Regions from separate parts of the Homo sapiens genome. Here regions 2, 3 and 4 are each linked to region 1. Evidence: promoter capture Hi-C in human tissues and cell types (Jung and others, 2019). All regions are on one chromosome and are shown on one strand. Each heading gives the region's core, a stretch centred on a gene start or on the middle of the fragment in contact. The rest is flanking DNA. Distances are from core to core; before and after follow the strand shown. Region 1 holds the start of GFRA1 (GDNF family receptor alpha 1). Region 2 overlaps GFRA1 (GDNF family receptor alpha 1). Region 3 overlaps GFRA1 (GDNF family receptor alpha 1). Region 4 overlaps GFRA1 (GDNF family receptor alpha 1).

Region 1 (3,522 bases), core at 272-2,771:
GAGCTCCCAGAGACTCTCTGGGGGTGCAGGGCCCTGGGCTGGAGGGCTTCTTAGTCCCCCGCCAAGTTGGGTCATTAAAAACCACAGGAAATCAAAACCAAGCCCGAAAAGCTTCAGGCAGCGCCGCGCCGCCACCGCCTCCCTAACCCGGGGATTCGCGATCCCATTCCCCAAAAAGACACTTCTTCCTTCCACATCCACCACACCCGCGCCCCAATTTTGGTGCGGAGGGCGGGGTGGGCTGCTGCAAGCGACCCTAGGAAAGACTCAGAGGGTAAGAAAGCCCGCGGCGGGCCTCGACTTACCCAAGAGCGGCAGCGCGAAGTACAGGGTCGCCAGGAACATGGTGCCGGCGCGGGGCTGGTCCCCGCCCCCCCAAAAAAATCCCGAGCCGCCGCTGGGTCTTGCCGAGGGAGCTCAGCGTGCAGCGATCCCCGGACAGCTGTGCTGCTCTGGCCGCCCAAAGTTCAGCTCCATCCAGTGAAAGAGGAAACTCCGGGTCTGGCAGCAGCCACCGCCGCCGGCGACTCAGCTCCGGGATGGCGAGGGCGGGAGGCGGTTCCGCTTTTAGGGGTTCAGGTCCGACCCAACCTGGAAGGGAGGGCGCGCTTTGAGATGAGAGCGGAGAGCGCCGGAGACTCCCCCCACAGAACCCTCTCCCCTCCCCCGTTCCCGCCTTTGGGGAATTTCCAACACCGGGGTGAGGACCCACCCCCACCCAGGTCGGGGTGCATGTGCGTGTTTTCCAGGGGCCGCTGACACGGGGATGGAGGTGAGGGCTGGAGAGGTCTGAAGAGGGTTCCTAAAGTCCAAGGGGGTGTCTGTTGGGTTCAACCCGAGACGCTGAACGCAAGCAAATAAATAAATAAACGGTACTTTCCGAGCGTCGCGAGCGGAGCCTGCAGCTGCCTGGAGTCCGAGCCCTCGGTGGCGGCGGCGGCAGCTCCCTAGCCAGCCCTGGCGCCGAAAGAGCCCCTTCTCCCGGGAAGTTGGCCTCCCCCTCCTCGCGTCAGCCAGCGAGCTCGCTCAGCCGCCGGCCCTCCCCACTCCGATCGCCAATCCCTAGCCCCAGTCGCCGCCCTCCTTCTCCCCGGGACTCGTCTCCCTCCAGAGGCCGCCAAGCCAGGGGGAACCGATGTCCCGACTGGGGCTGAAACCCGGTTCCTGCGCCCCTACCCCCTACCCGCCGCGCGTCCTCGGCTCCCTCCTGGGCGTCCGCTCCTCTCACACTCTCGCCCGGTGCCCAGGACTCGGGCGCTTCCGCACCCCAGCCCAGGGCGAGCGCGCCGGCCCGCAGTCCCGGCGTGCCCCGGCAGGTGCAGCCCGGCGCCACGAGCGCCCCCCGGGCCCTAAAGTTGGGAGACGCCAGCAAAAAGAAAGGGGTGGCCGGAGGAGGGGGGAAGAAGGAGTGGGGAAGAGGGACGGGAAGCGGCAATGGGTTCCCAAACAGAACGAAAAAAACTCCAAATGCCACCAACCTGGACTCAACCGACCGCGTCCAGCTGCGGCGAGGAGCCAGTTTGTTTATTTACTTATTTATTCTTTCAGGGCAATGGTGTCCCCGCCCCCTCCTTCCCTTTCCGGGCTCACTTTATCTGCGCTAGGAAAAGAAAAAAAAGAAAAAAAAATAGATGCGGTAATCTTCGAGAGCTCGAAGGGCCGAGTTGGGCCAGGACGATTTCCGAGCAGAGCCCTCGGCTCGGATGCTCGTTAGGGATGTTAGTGGTTATTGGAAGCGGCGCGGAGAATGGCGTGTTCCGAGGCCAGATTTCTTCTGGCCAGAGGACCCTCGGCCTGCTCCTGTTCCCGCCGCTCCGCAGCTCCAGCTCCCTCCTAAGCTCGCCCGCCAGGCAGCCGCAGCTGCACACGCCCGCTTGCGGTGGGACCCGCGGCCGGACCCGTACTCGCGCACAGGACACGCAGTGTTCTGCAGCCGGCCGCGGGTGCTGCCAGACACACACACTCTCTCTCTCTCTCTCTCTCTCTGTCTCTCTCTCTCTCTCTCTCTCTCACACACACACACAGACACACACACACACATACACGGGCACAAGGGCTCTTTCTTCTTAGGGCAATCGAGCCAGACCCTTCTTCGGAACACAAAGTTTTCCCCCACGTCACTAGTGGCTGTGATTCAAGACTTGGTGCTTTCAAGACACACTCAGACCCAGGACGCTGGAGCGGCGATCCTGGGATGCGCCCATCCGTTCGTCCACGCCAGCGCGTGCACACTCACACTCACACGCACACATGCACACGCAGTCTCTACCTCTCTCCTGGAGCTCCGACAAGGAGACAAAAGCGGAGCCCCCAGCCCACTGCATTTAAACCCGGCCAGACCTGGCTTTAGAAAATTTATAAGCTGACCTCCATTTTGGCTGTTTCGAGAGTAAATTAACAACAACAAAAAAAGCCTAACATGTACACAGCCCTTCGCCCCAACCCCTGGGACCGCTGGTTCCCAGTCGTGCTGCTCACCCCCCGCCCCCCACGCCTGACACACGCTCCCCTTCCCGCACGCCGGGGGGCGCCCGGGGCACCGAAGTCTACACTGGGTCGGGAGACCGGTCTAGGAGCCAGCCGGCAGTGCTCGGGATCTTTGCTGATGTCCAAGTTCATCTCTCGGGGAGACCGAGTTTGAATCAAATCTGCGTGCGCCCAGCTGTCAAATCTGCAAACCTATCACGCCAGACAATGGGCCGCCGCGGAGGACAGACAAGAATGGCTCATTTTGATCGAGGGGGGTAAATTGAAAAGGGCACGGGCTTTGGTTGAAGTTTGAGGCCCGGGTGTCAGGGCGGGGAGAAGAAGAGGAGGAAGGAGGAGGGTTGGGCCGCTCTCCATTCAACCACACATCAGCCAGGCGCGCCCCTCGGCTGCAGCGGCTGCTTGCAGGCGGGCTGCATATTGTGTGGAGTCGCCAAAGAGGGTCTGCGCCTCGGGGCGCGCCCCAAACCCGGGGGACATCCTACGGATCCGCACTTCTCTTGTGCTGTACGCGTGTTCCTCCAGGGTAAGTATGAGGAGACGGACGCCCTCATCAGACACCCCTCCTCCAACACACACACACCCATAGCCACATCATTCAGGGATACTCTAGTTCAGTGTATCAGTTTACACTTGGTTGTTGAGTAAACAAAGCAAACATATGTCACATTTTCGCGACAGATGGTTCAAACCAAGGGCTACTTAAGTTCTCTCTCTCTAACAGTCTAAGTTACAGGCTGAACTAAGCAGAAATGTAATTAAGTCATCTGATCAGTTTCTTCGACTTAAAATGTTTTCCCATATTTTCACAAACAAGCCAGATAAATCCTGGGGATGTGGTTTCAAGGAAAGGAGGGCTGAATATGAACTAAGACTTTGTGTGAAGACTCCGTTTCTCCCCGGTCACCCCAAACAGAAAATCCTCTTTCATTGTTCCATTTCGTAAGTGGAGGAGAATGTCTTCTTTTGGAAAATCAGTAATTGGAATTTCAATTTTCAATAGAGGGACTAGTGCTTACCGGTGCTGATTACTTG
Region 2 (3,522 bases), core at 456-2,955, 190 kb before region 1:
GGATTACTCAGGGGAGGCACTGCGTATGCATTTGTTTTATTAATGCCTGGCCATAAAAAGCTAGGGTGACCTAAGTTATCAAAGCAAATTGTTCTGGGATCTGTCATAGAATGAGATGGTTTATAATGTTTTCCAAAGTGGGGCTTGGGGACTACTGGTGGTATACGACATCATTTTAGGTAGCACGCAAACTTTTTTATGGTTTTAATTTTAATATTTATATATTGATTTTAATATAGAGAAAGCACATTGAACTCATGCTTTCACATATGTTAGTAACAGCTTCAGATGAGTCTCAAAGGCAGTAGTGTGCATATAAATAAGTATAGCTCATAATTGAATTTAAAGACAAAGATGAAGCAAATAATAGGATCAGTGGAGTGCAGATATGGCAAAGACTGCAAAGTCCTGGGATTTGAGGCTAAGAGGCAGGACTAGTTCTCAAATACCGTCTTTTCTGCAACCAAGAATGTTTCATGTTAACAACTGCATCACCTCTTCCTAATGTCAGCATTGGTTAAAGAGATGTGGCGGGGACCGTGGCAGCTAGTTCCACTCTGGTCACCAGGCTGGACCAAGATCTGACCAGAGTGGCAGCTCCAAGTCACAGCTCCAAGAGGCAGGTAAGTCAGATGAAGCTCCCAGGAGATGTGCGGAGAGATGGAATTTGGATCAGTTCTAATCCCTGAAGACCTAGTCCTTTTATTGCCTTTGGTTTCCCTTCCTTCTTGGCCTGGTGTCCAAAGAACATTCTCCCTCTTCCCCTCCTCCCTGGGACTTTCCACCAAGACCACATCTTAGAACTGGCAGGATATCATTCAGCTCAAACCGCCCCTTGCTTTTGTTTTTTTTGTTTTTTTTTTGAGACGGACTTTTGCTCTTGCTGCCCAGGCTAGAGTGCAAGAGCGTAATGGTGCGATCTTGGCTCACCACAACCTCCGCCTCCCGGATTCAAGCGATTCTCCTGCTTCAGCCTCCTGAGTAGCTGGGATTACAGGCATGTGCCACCATGCTGGCTAATTTTGTATTTTTAGTAGAGATGGGGTTTCTCCATGTTGGTCAGGCAGGTCTCAAACTCCTGACTTCAGGTGATCTGCCGCCTTGGCTTCCCAAAGTGCTGGGATTACAGGTGTGAGCCACCACACCCAGCCTCAAACCCTTCTTATTAATTAAGAAGACACAATACAATCTAAAGAGCTCCATCGTTCTTCCTCTGTGGCCCCCCTGCTCCTGAGAGCAGCTCTTCCTTTCTGGCCCCAGCCTCCTGTGTCAAAATCTCTAATGCATCTCACCAACCATGCCAATAGTGGAGGCCACTTCCCCCAGTCCAAGGGTCAGCCTGTTGTTGTGCCTGGCTCTTTGCATACTTGCACTGTTCTTTATCCCTCACAAAAAACCAAGAGCTCAGTGGTGTTTTACAGCAGAGATTCAGGGTAAAAACCAAGCAATAGTCATGGAGCCACAGGAGGCGAGCCAGGATTCTCACTCAGGTCCAACTAACTCCAAAGCTCAAGCTTTTCCCGGAAAACCAACTCTTAAACTGTTAACCATGGGTGAAAAGGAAAGTGCGGAAGAACTGCTCTCAGGGTTACTTCACCCTACTTGGAGGGGTGGGGTAAGGACAGGGGGTGAACCCCCTTCCCGGAGCCAGGAGTCTGGTGTGGAAATAAGCACCTCTCTTTCCTCGCTTCTATCTTCCCAGGCCTCCTCTCCTCCCAGTCTATCATCCTGTGCAAAATCCCAGCACCCTGGACTGGCTCTCAAGCGCCTCTTCTCTGGTGGAAGATTAACGGGCCGCCAAAGCATCCCATTGCTCTGCTAGCATAAATTGCAAGAAAAACATTTAGAATATTGATTAAGTGCTCCGTGCTAGAAGATTGAAATTTACCTCCTGTATTTCCAGGATTAGCTGACATAATGGGGTCAGTCTGCTGGCACAAATGATTTACAGAACACCCATTGGCAGCTTTCCTTTTAAAACTCGACACTTAAAATTTTCACTTGGTCACAGCCAGTGGAGTCCTGGGTATTTGGTAGGCTTGGATAATTGCCTTCCCACCGCATCTAGACTTTGGGGGTTTGCCCCCACAAAGAAGAGTTTTGAAATCATTTCTGGTCTGGTCTGGCCCCATCTGGAACAAATGGACTTTGGATCTGAGGAGATACTGGGGCCGTGGGGAGAGGGTGGAAGGGACCATCTAAATATAGATTATTTTCAATATTCAAATGCAGAAGATGTAGGAGTTAAACAGATTAGGTCTGCCCTCCATCCCTCCTGCCACTCTGCAAACATTAGGCTGCATCCTACAAGTACCTGTTTTCTAAGCTTGACACGACTCTGGGGAGATAAGGAAATGTATTGAGGCTTTGTTGGGAGGCTGGCAAGGTGTGAACCTAGGCTGAAATCCAGTGAATGTGGCAGGTTCTCTGCTCCAGGCAGATGCCCACCCCAAGGCCTCTGCCCCCACCCCACACAAAGAGGGGCCCACGGTGTCTCTACTGTGAACCCCTTAGGGCTAGCATGGTCTGATGGCCAGAGAAGACCAGGCAGCTACTGGTGGAGTGGTTGGGGGCAGGACGGCTGCCCTCTGCATGGTTGATTTTAACAGGAAGCATGCTTTCGAAGATTATCCACATGGACCCTTCATCTCTTTCATGACTAGGCAAGCTGCTTTGTGGTTTCCTTCTAGAATGCTGTTTTAAAAGTCCCACCAGGATGAGATCTGTCACACTGGTCCTCCATGTCTCACCCACAGATGTGTTTTATGTGACTCACAAAAGTAATCTCTAACTTTGAATGTGGCTTGTGCTGTTTACTGGAGCCTGTGCCAACTGCCCACAGCTATCCTCACCTACCCTGCTCGCCCTGGGGCTGAGCGTGTGCCCCACGGTCTGTCACGCATTTCCAGGGGCAAGGGGCTGAAGGAAGGCAGAGGCAGTGAAACCTTCTCAGGAGGCCTGAGTCCCAAGGCTATAGCTCCCAATCCTTGTTACTCTATTTGACCACAGAAATCAGAGGTCGACAAACACCACATTAAGATGTCTTCACTGTAAGACACCAGAGTTAAGCAGTGTACAATGATGCAAAATAGAGAATTTTTCTAACGTTCCAAAGATATTTACTTTAAATAAGTAACACACACACACACACACACACACACACACACACACACACACACACACACAGTCCATTTGGTTTAAATATCCTGAGCTTTTTCCAGCTACCAGACCACTCCAGTGCACGGAAGATGAAGTAATTGATAGGATTATTAATGTTTCTTTGTTTTCCATATGACCATTTCATATAAGTAAGTCGAAGGAATAGGCCAACAATAGCACAGCCTGTGCCATGCTTGTCACTAATATGACTGCCAATTAATCCTGAAATGGGAGCTTGGCGGGTAACCCAAAACCCGGTATTTTATCACCTCAGGGGGTTAGCACTTGGACATTTCTGTAACATTTTACACTAATCAATCAACTTTCCTTTTTTAAAGCAAAGCCTTTCATAGGAACCATGGA
Region 3 (3,522 bases), core at 634-3,133, 170 kb before region 1:
GCTGTGGTGCCATACCAGTTGCTATGTACAGTCACTTTAAATGTCTGCTGTGAGACTTAAATGACAATTATATAAAGCTCCTCACCCAGAACCCAGAATACACCAGTTGCCCCCAAAATTTTTACTTCTATCCCTTCATATGTTCTCCCCAATTCCTGGTTCATTCTAATGTTCAGCCTTTGCTGGAAAAACACACAACAAGCTCAATAAAGAGAAACATACACTGTGTCTTAGTCTATCTTTGGTGGCCCTTATATTACATACTTTCAACATGCTACATCTATGTAACTAAAGGCATCAACTTTGACCAAAACAAATTTGAGAAGTCTGAAGTGAGGAATCTGTGGTGTTACTTAAAGCCTCTCTGTTACATGAACTCATAAAATAAAGGCACTTTAAGAAAAGCTACTTTTTCCCAGGGACTTAGAGCAAAGGGATATATTTTTAAAAGGACTAAATATCAGTAAGTTTGTTAAAACTGCTAATACCTTTTGCAGAATAAAAACAATTAGAAAAACATGCTGCTAATATTAGACCAGGAATGAAAAGGCTAAAACACTGGAAAGGTAATTGTCTGGTATAGTGACACAAAACAGATTTTTCCTCTTTCTGTTTTTAGAAAATTACCTTAGCCCCTATTCTCCCTCAGTCTGCTGTAACACACATCTGGAAAGCATCCTTCAGGAAACCAGGGCCTGTATTAAATACATTTTGCAGGGGGTGTTATTTTGTGTTGCTATTGCTGTCTGGGCTGTGCATCTGGCTTCCTGGAGCAAAGGCCTAGTATTTGCCTAGGAGTAGGCTACGGAGCTGCGGAGCTGGGGAGCTGAGGAGCTGAGCTGCGATTCTCTCCCCACCTAGGACTGAGTGTGGAGACGCAAAGGGTCTGGGGAGGTCCACATGCCCCAGGTGCAGATGCGCAAAGCTCTGTGCATCTTGCATTCATCAGCCCCTTAACACAGGTTCCCACTGGTAGTGGGATTATTAAAGCCTCGCCAACTGATGTGCGTATGGCAGTTTAGCAAGACAGCGGCCACATGTTGGTGAGAAACAATACCATAAGGTCTAAGCAGCCTTCAAGCCTTTCCTAATGCCTTTGTTTCCTGGGACAGAAAGGCCCCTGTGGCCAAGTACAGATCATTTCCTGCTCCCCTCAAATCCCTGCTCAGCCTCATCCTGATACATGGGGCTTCCCCGATCACTGTTGCTCCTCTGGCTCCTTGGCAGCTCTTGGCTGCGAGGGTTCTCCTTGTGGTTTGCCCAGCACATGGGCCATGGAGGCTGCTGTCACTGCACTCTGAGCCTGACTCACAGGGGCTCTGGCAAAGCTTCATGGGCTGAGAATGGAGTTCCGGCGATGCAGATGGAATCCCCCATTATTTCAGTCCCTGCGTCCTGCCTTGGGTATCTCTGCAGGTTGAGGGTTCAGCAAAAGCAGGCTGCAGGGCACAGAGGTGATGCTTCCTTAGCCTTTCTGATTGCATCAAACTGCAGTAGCCCCCCGAGGGAAGTCTAGGTTGGCATCTGATCAATTTTGGCATCCCTCCCGAAGCCACCTTGCATGAACATTGACAGCCATCAGTCAACATTGACAGAGCAGTTGACAGGGCTTGACAGGTACTCTCTACCTGGCAAATTTGAAAAGCAAGTCATGGTAGTTGGCAAGAAAATCCATTCCAACTTGCAAGGGGCTTTCAGCAGCCTTAGATCAGATGTCCCTGAACTGCCCTTTTGCCAGGAATCCACTGCCCTCCACCTATTTATCCCAATGCGCAAACTGATGGTCATGGTACAAGAAAACTCTAAGTAGTAATGGGAGCACAGAAAGATCTCCAACAACCCTGTGCTGCATCACGAAATCAAATAAAATTGTTTTATATTACCCATACTATGCTATGTCCATTCACACAGAAAACCTAGCTTTAGCTTTGGTAGTACTTGTTTTTAAGGGAAGAAATTGAAGAAGAAAAGAAATGGAAAGTTTTGTGGATGATGAAAGGATCATAAAGCTCTCAGATATTCAGTGGGATAACTGCAGGTGACAAATATGTTAAAACTCTTTAAGAGTAAACCTTATCCAATAAGTCTTTTATATTTCTGCAGGCAAACTTTAGAAATCAGTTTTGTGGCTTTTGGCCACAAGAAAAAATGGAAATCTAGATGTTCAATGAATCTTTCACCAGCAGAACCACACCTTAAAACTCTAGACCAACACAGTGTGAGCTTGCTTCATGGAGAATTCAGCAGCACCTCCACCTTCGGAAGTAAATGCCTGAAGTCGCCTGGTATTTATTCTGGAACGCTAAGAGGCTCCATGTCAACTGCTCAGGAATCCTGGGCAGCAAAGGTCATCCACCATGGCTTCATTTAATTATTTACGCACACCCTGTCTTCAGAAGGAATTTTGAAGTGCCTTCAGATGTAGCTGTGATGTGGCAGAATATAAAAATTAGTGAGAGAATTGGGGACCACAGAAAGGTAAGATAGAGGCAGTGGTTTAGCTAGTACAAAATGTACACATGCCCCTGGCTGGATGAAAACTACATATTTGGTTCAGAGATTTCCAGCAACCACTGGGAAGGGGGTTAAGATATTCATAACTAATTCCACAACTAGCTCATGATACCCCCAAATTAAAAACAAGATAGATGCTCAGAAGAAAAACTGCTTGCGGCAGGCAGAATGCCTACCTTTGGGTAGGCTCTCAAAGGCATCTGGACCTGAATTCCTAAAACCTGAGACCATTACAGTTCATGGCAAAATGGACTTTGCAGATATAATTATGGTCATGGATCTTGAGGTAGGGAGAGTATCCCGGATTTTCCCGGTAGGACCAATAGAATCACAGGAGTCTTTAAAAGTGGAATAGGGAGGCAAGTGAGGGTGTCATCGTGATGTCATGTGAGACTCCACCTGGCCCTTGCTGGTTCTGAAAATGGAGGAAGGGGCCATGAGCCTGCGTGGGGAAAGGCAAAGAAATGGATTCTCCTCTGCAGCCTCCAGAAAGAACTCAGCCCTGCTGACACCTTGATTTCAGCCCAGTGAGACCCGAGTCAGACTTCTGACCCTATAGATCAGTAAGAGAATAAATGTGTGTTGTTTGAAGTTTGTGGTAATTTGTTAACAGCACCAATAGAAAACTAAAAGACTACTAAAAAGCAGTAAACAGTAGGGGGTTTTCATACAGAACTTGAACATGTACTAGGACTTAAATTTCAGCTCAATCGCTTACTAGCCATGACATTCTGGGCAAGTATCTTAGCTTCTCTGAAGCCTAGTGATATAGTTCGGACGTGTGTCCCCACCCAAATCTCACGCTGAAACGTGATCCCCAGTGTTGGAGGTGGGGCCTGGTGGGAGGTGATTGGATCCTGGGGGCAGACTTCTCATGAATGGTTTAGCACCACCCTCTTGGGTAGCGAGTAGGTTCTTGTGAGATCTGATCTTTTACAAGTGTGTGGCACCTCCCTCCACTTTCTCTTGGTTCTGCTCCGATCATGTGACATGTCTGCATGAGGAATA
Region 4 (3,522 bases), core at 670-3,169, 140 kb before region 1:
TGAAATGTGTTCAACATCATTAGTTATCAGAGAAATGCAAAATGAAACCACAATGAGATACACTCTACACTCACCACAATGGTTAAAATTTGACATCAAATGTTATTTAACAAAATGTGATGTTCCTAGAATTCTCATACATTGTTGGTGGGAATGGAAAATGGTTCAACCACTGTGGAAAAACATTCGGTAGCTTTTTATAAAACTAAACATACAATTACCCTATGGCCCAGAAATTCTACTTTTAGGTTTTTATCCAAGAGAACTTGAACATATGTCCACAAAAGACTTGAACAAGAATATTATACCAGCATATTGATAATAATCAAAACTGGAGACAGCCCATGTATCCATCAATAGGAAAATGGCTCAACAAACTGTGATCTATCCACAGTTATCCACGTGGACTGCTACTCAGAAATAAGAAGAGATGAACTGTTGATACACAAAATAGCATGGATGAATCTCAAAAAAATAAATAAAAGACTACACACAGAAGTACGCACAGTATGATTATATATATAGTTCGGGAATAGGCAAAACTAATTTATGATTTTTAAAATATTAAAAGACTGGCTGCTTCCAGGGAATGGGGGTGAGGATTGGCTAGGAAGGAATAAGAGATAACTTTCTGGGGGTGATGGTAATGTTCTCTACCTTGATAATGGCTTGTGTTGAACAGTTTGGGCCAAAACTCAGAGATAGTATGCTTAAGGTTTGTGCCTATGTAAACATTATCTCAAAAGGAAAAAAAAAAAAAAAAAAAAGGCCAGGCACAGTGGCTCATGCTTGTAATCCCAGCACTTTGGGAGGCTGACGTGGGAGGATTGCTTGAGACCAGAAGATCGAGACCAGCTTGAGCAATATAAGGAGGCACTGTCGCTACAAAAATATTTAAAAATCACCCAGGCATGGTGGCATGTGCCTGTAGTCCTAGCTACTCGGGAGGCTGAGGTGGGAGGATTACTTGAGCCCAGAAGGTCAAGGCTGCAGTGAGCCATGATCCACACCACTGCACTCCAGCCTGGGTGACAAGAGCGAAAGTGTGTCTCAAAGAACAAACAAACAAACAACAACAAAACACAAAAAGAAATAGCCTAAACAAATATTGAACACTGGTTAGTCATATGTGTGCTGAAGCGTTTAGGGGCAGTATATTCATAAATGAATTTTAAAAACTTAGAGGATGGACATATGGGCGCTCATACAGCACATTCAGATGTGAATATGGAATCCAGGTGCTGAGTATATATGCATTAACCATATTTTTTTTCCACTGTTCTGTATGTTCGAAAATGTTCATAATAAAATATTGGAAAAAATAAATTCATGCCTACCTTATTATTACTCTTTTCAAAAAGTTTCACATGGGCAATTGCGCACGGCACATGGGAAATCACTCTTGGCCCCTCCCCTCCTTTCGCCCGCTAACTTAGTCCCTCACAAATCCACCTCCAGCTCTCTCCGGGGCCCTGATACTGCGGATCCTACTGCAATGAAGTTAAAAATAAACACTGCTGAAATCACAGGATATATAAATTAGGGTTGAGTTTTCACCCGGTAAGAAGATTGATCCTCTATATCTATTGAATGGATCCCCCAGTGCACGAAAATACTACCTCAATGACTTGAGGGCACAGGGAGGAGAGGGGAGAATGATTCAATTTACACCCTTGGAGTCAAAGCCAGCCCTCCATCAGCTCACACACCGCACGGAGGATCAGGAGCCCGCCTGTGTTTTACGGTCTGGGCACAAGCGCCTTCTCGCCTGCGTGGGAAGGCTTCTGAACAGCTTTACTATAACTCTAACTGCCATCCTCTCCACAGCTCATTTTAGAGCTCAGCATTAAAATGTTGCTTTCCCCCCTCCCCTCCCCCTCTAATCTCTCCCTCCATCTGCTGTTATTCATTCTTTAACTTGGTAGAATGTCTGGGACGCTGTCTGAATGGGAAGTATTCTCAGAATGAACGCTGTTTACTAGAAATCCTTTTTTCTTGGGGGAGTGCATATGCGAGTGGGTTGTGCTCAGCTAATGTGCTCCTCTCCAGCCTCGGCTCTGTATTACCGAGAATGCCATTTAACCAGATTTTCACTTCAAATTCCACACAGCCATGTTGTCACTTTGCAGGTTACGTATTGCTTTCTTTACCATCATTCTAAGCCTCTCTGGCTGTGATCACATCTGGTGGTGACTTGTTTCTTGTTTTCTTGGCCATGGGAGGTATAACATTCATGGCAACCGAGGGTGAGATCCCAAAACCTAGGACAAAAAGGGTCAGGTGCTGCTGAAGGAGCCATGGATTAGGAGTGAGGAGCATCTGGGTTTTAAATGTGGTCCAATCATCTGAGCGTTTTCATACAAGTCAGCTTTCCCCCCATGGGCATCAGTTTCCCTATTTGTGAGATGATATATCTAAGGTCCCTTCAAGCCTTAAGGCTCTTTGATTTGATGGTTCTAATGTAATCTGCCTTTTCTGACTATAACGTCAAATATTTAGAATAAAATGTGGTGATGAGGGACAGAATGTAAAACCCCAGCCAGAGGGTCTATGCACTTGGAGGCGCTGGCCTCTCCGCGGTCTGCGGCTCCAAAGGAGTACATGGACCAATGATTTCAGCCCTGACCTGCAGGCAGAGCAAATGTAAAAGGTCCCTCCAACACAGCGAGATGTGGAAGTGTCAGGGATGAATTATGTCATGGGAGAAGCTTTCATATTCTAAATTCCTCTGGAGCAAGGAACTGCCTTTATCTCAAATACAATCCTCACACTGTCCCAAGTAAGAGGCTATCACTGTGGCCAGCAGCCCTGATTATTTACACTTAGAAAATGCCACCGTTATTGGCAAACACCAGGGCCAGCTAACCAGTTGAAACGATTCAGGATGAAACACAGATGCAAGCAACTAGAAATCTATTTCTATGGATTATGAGGTAGAATAAAACAGTAAATATATTAAAATCTGCATGGCCTGCAAGAGATATGATTTACGAAGCAAAAATTCACAAGACAATAAAAGAACGTTTGTTTGCACATGCTTGCCAATTTCTGGGTATCTTTCTGCCTTTCTTTTTAAGGCTGCAGAATTGAATTCACAACTTGTTTCCTCTTTTTCTTTCTGACTTGATTAATTACTATGTTAATATAACTACTGTTCTTCTTCTAATAGGCTCCCTCTAATGTGTTTTCCCAGAAAATTAAAAAATGGGTAAAAGATGCCAAATCTTCACAGGTGTAGGCAAACTTTTCTGCAAGCTCACAGTGACAGTCTGGGCTTCTGATATCCACACGGATCGTATGGCAAATTTGATCATACAGGTTGTGACCCTTGTAACTGATCCTTCAAGAGCTTGGCTTTTTCCAGCTAGGGTGCTAAAAATTACATTTAAAAAGCACATGTTGGCTGTTTGGAACCCATTTTGTCATTCGTACACTGTTTCAGACATATTGTATTACATGATGATGAAATTCCTCCTAGTTCTGTTTTTTCATACCTTACACAACTACATTAAGCTGCAAGCC

The links. The method cuts DNA at HindIII sites, captures the fragments that hold promoters and counts their contacts. A contact is called where the count stands out against the background at its distance.
Region 2: a contact is called between a fragment that was not itself captured here and the fragment with the promoter of GFRA1 in region 1, in 3 of the 25 tissues and cell types used here (aorta, dorsolateral prefrontal cortex and mesendoderm cells).
Region 3: a fragment that was not itself captured here is called in contact with the fragment with the promoter of GFRA1 in region 1 in 2 of the 25 tissues and cell types used here (mesendoderm cells and thymus).
Region 4: a contact is called between a fragment that was not itself captured here and the fragment with the promoter of GFRA1 in region 1, in 2 of the 25 tissues and cell types used here (hippocampus and mesendoderm cells).

Annotation. Positions count from the first base shown.
Region 1 is chr10:116,271,685-116,275,206 of GRCh38, forward strand. It overlaps GFRA1 (GDNF family receptor alpha 1), which reads right to left and starts at 1,522. Exons shown (of 11, transcript NM_005264.8): 1 at 1,479-1,522; 2 at 306-591. The coding sequence starts at 345. LOC107984273 (a long non-coding RNA gene) reads left to right here and starts at 2,325. Exons shown (of 2, transcript XR_001747598.2): 1 at 2,325-3,522. RefSeq lists an enhancer at 1,687-2,524 and a silencer at 1,733-2,027. The HindIII fragment of the contact is 12,805 bases long and covers 1-3,522 here.
Region 2 is chr10:116,081,627-116,085,148 of GRCh38, forward strand. The region is part of intron 9 of GFRA1 (GDNF family receptor alpha 1); the gene reads right to left. Among named protein-coding and RNA genes, the nearest start is that of SNORD158, 110 kb to the right of the region's middle. The HindIII fragment of the contact is 5,019 bases long and covers 1-3,522 here.
Region 3 is chr10:116,103,162-116,106,683 of GRCh38, forward strand. All of the region lies in intron 6 of GFRA1 (GDNF family receptor alpha 1), which reads right to left. Among named protein-coding and RNA genes, the nearest start is that of SNORD158, 90 kb to the right of the region's middle. The HindIII fragment of the contact is 5,863 bases long and covers 1-3,522 here.
Region 4 is chr10:116,131,158-116,134,679 of GRCh38, forward strand. All of the region lies in intron 5 of GFRA1 (GDNF family receptor alpha 1), which reads right to left. Among named protein-coding and RNA genes, the nearest start is that of SNORD158, 62 kb to the right of the region's middle. RefSeq lists a silencer at 1,581-1,875. The HindIII fragment of the contact is 5,383 bases long and covers 1-3,522 here.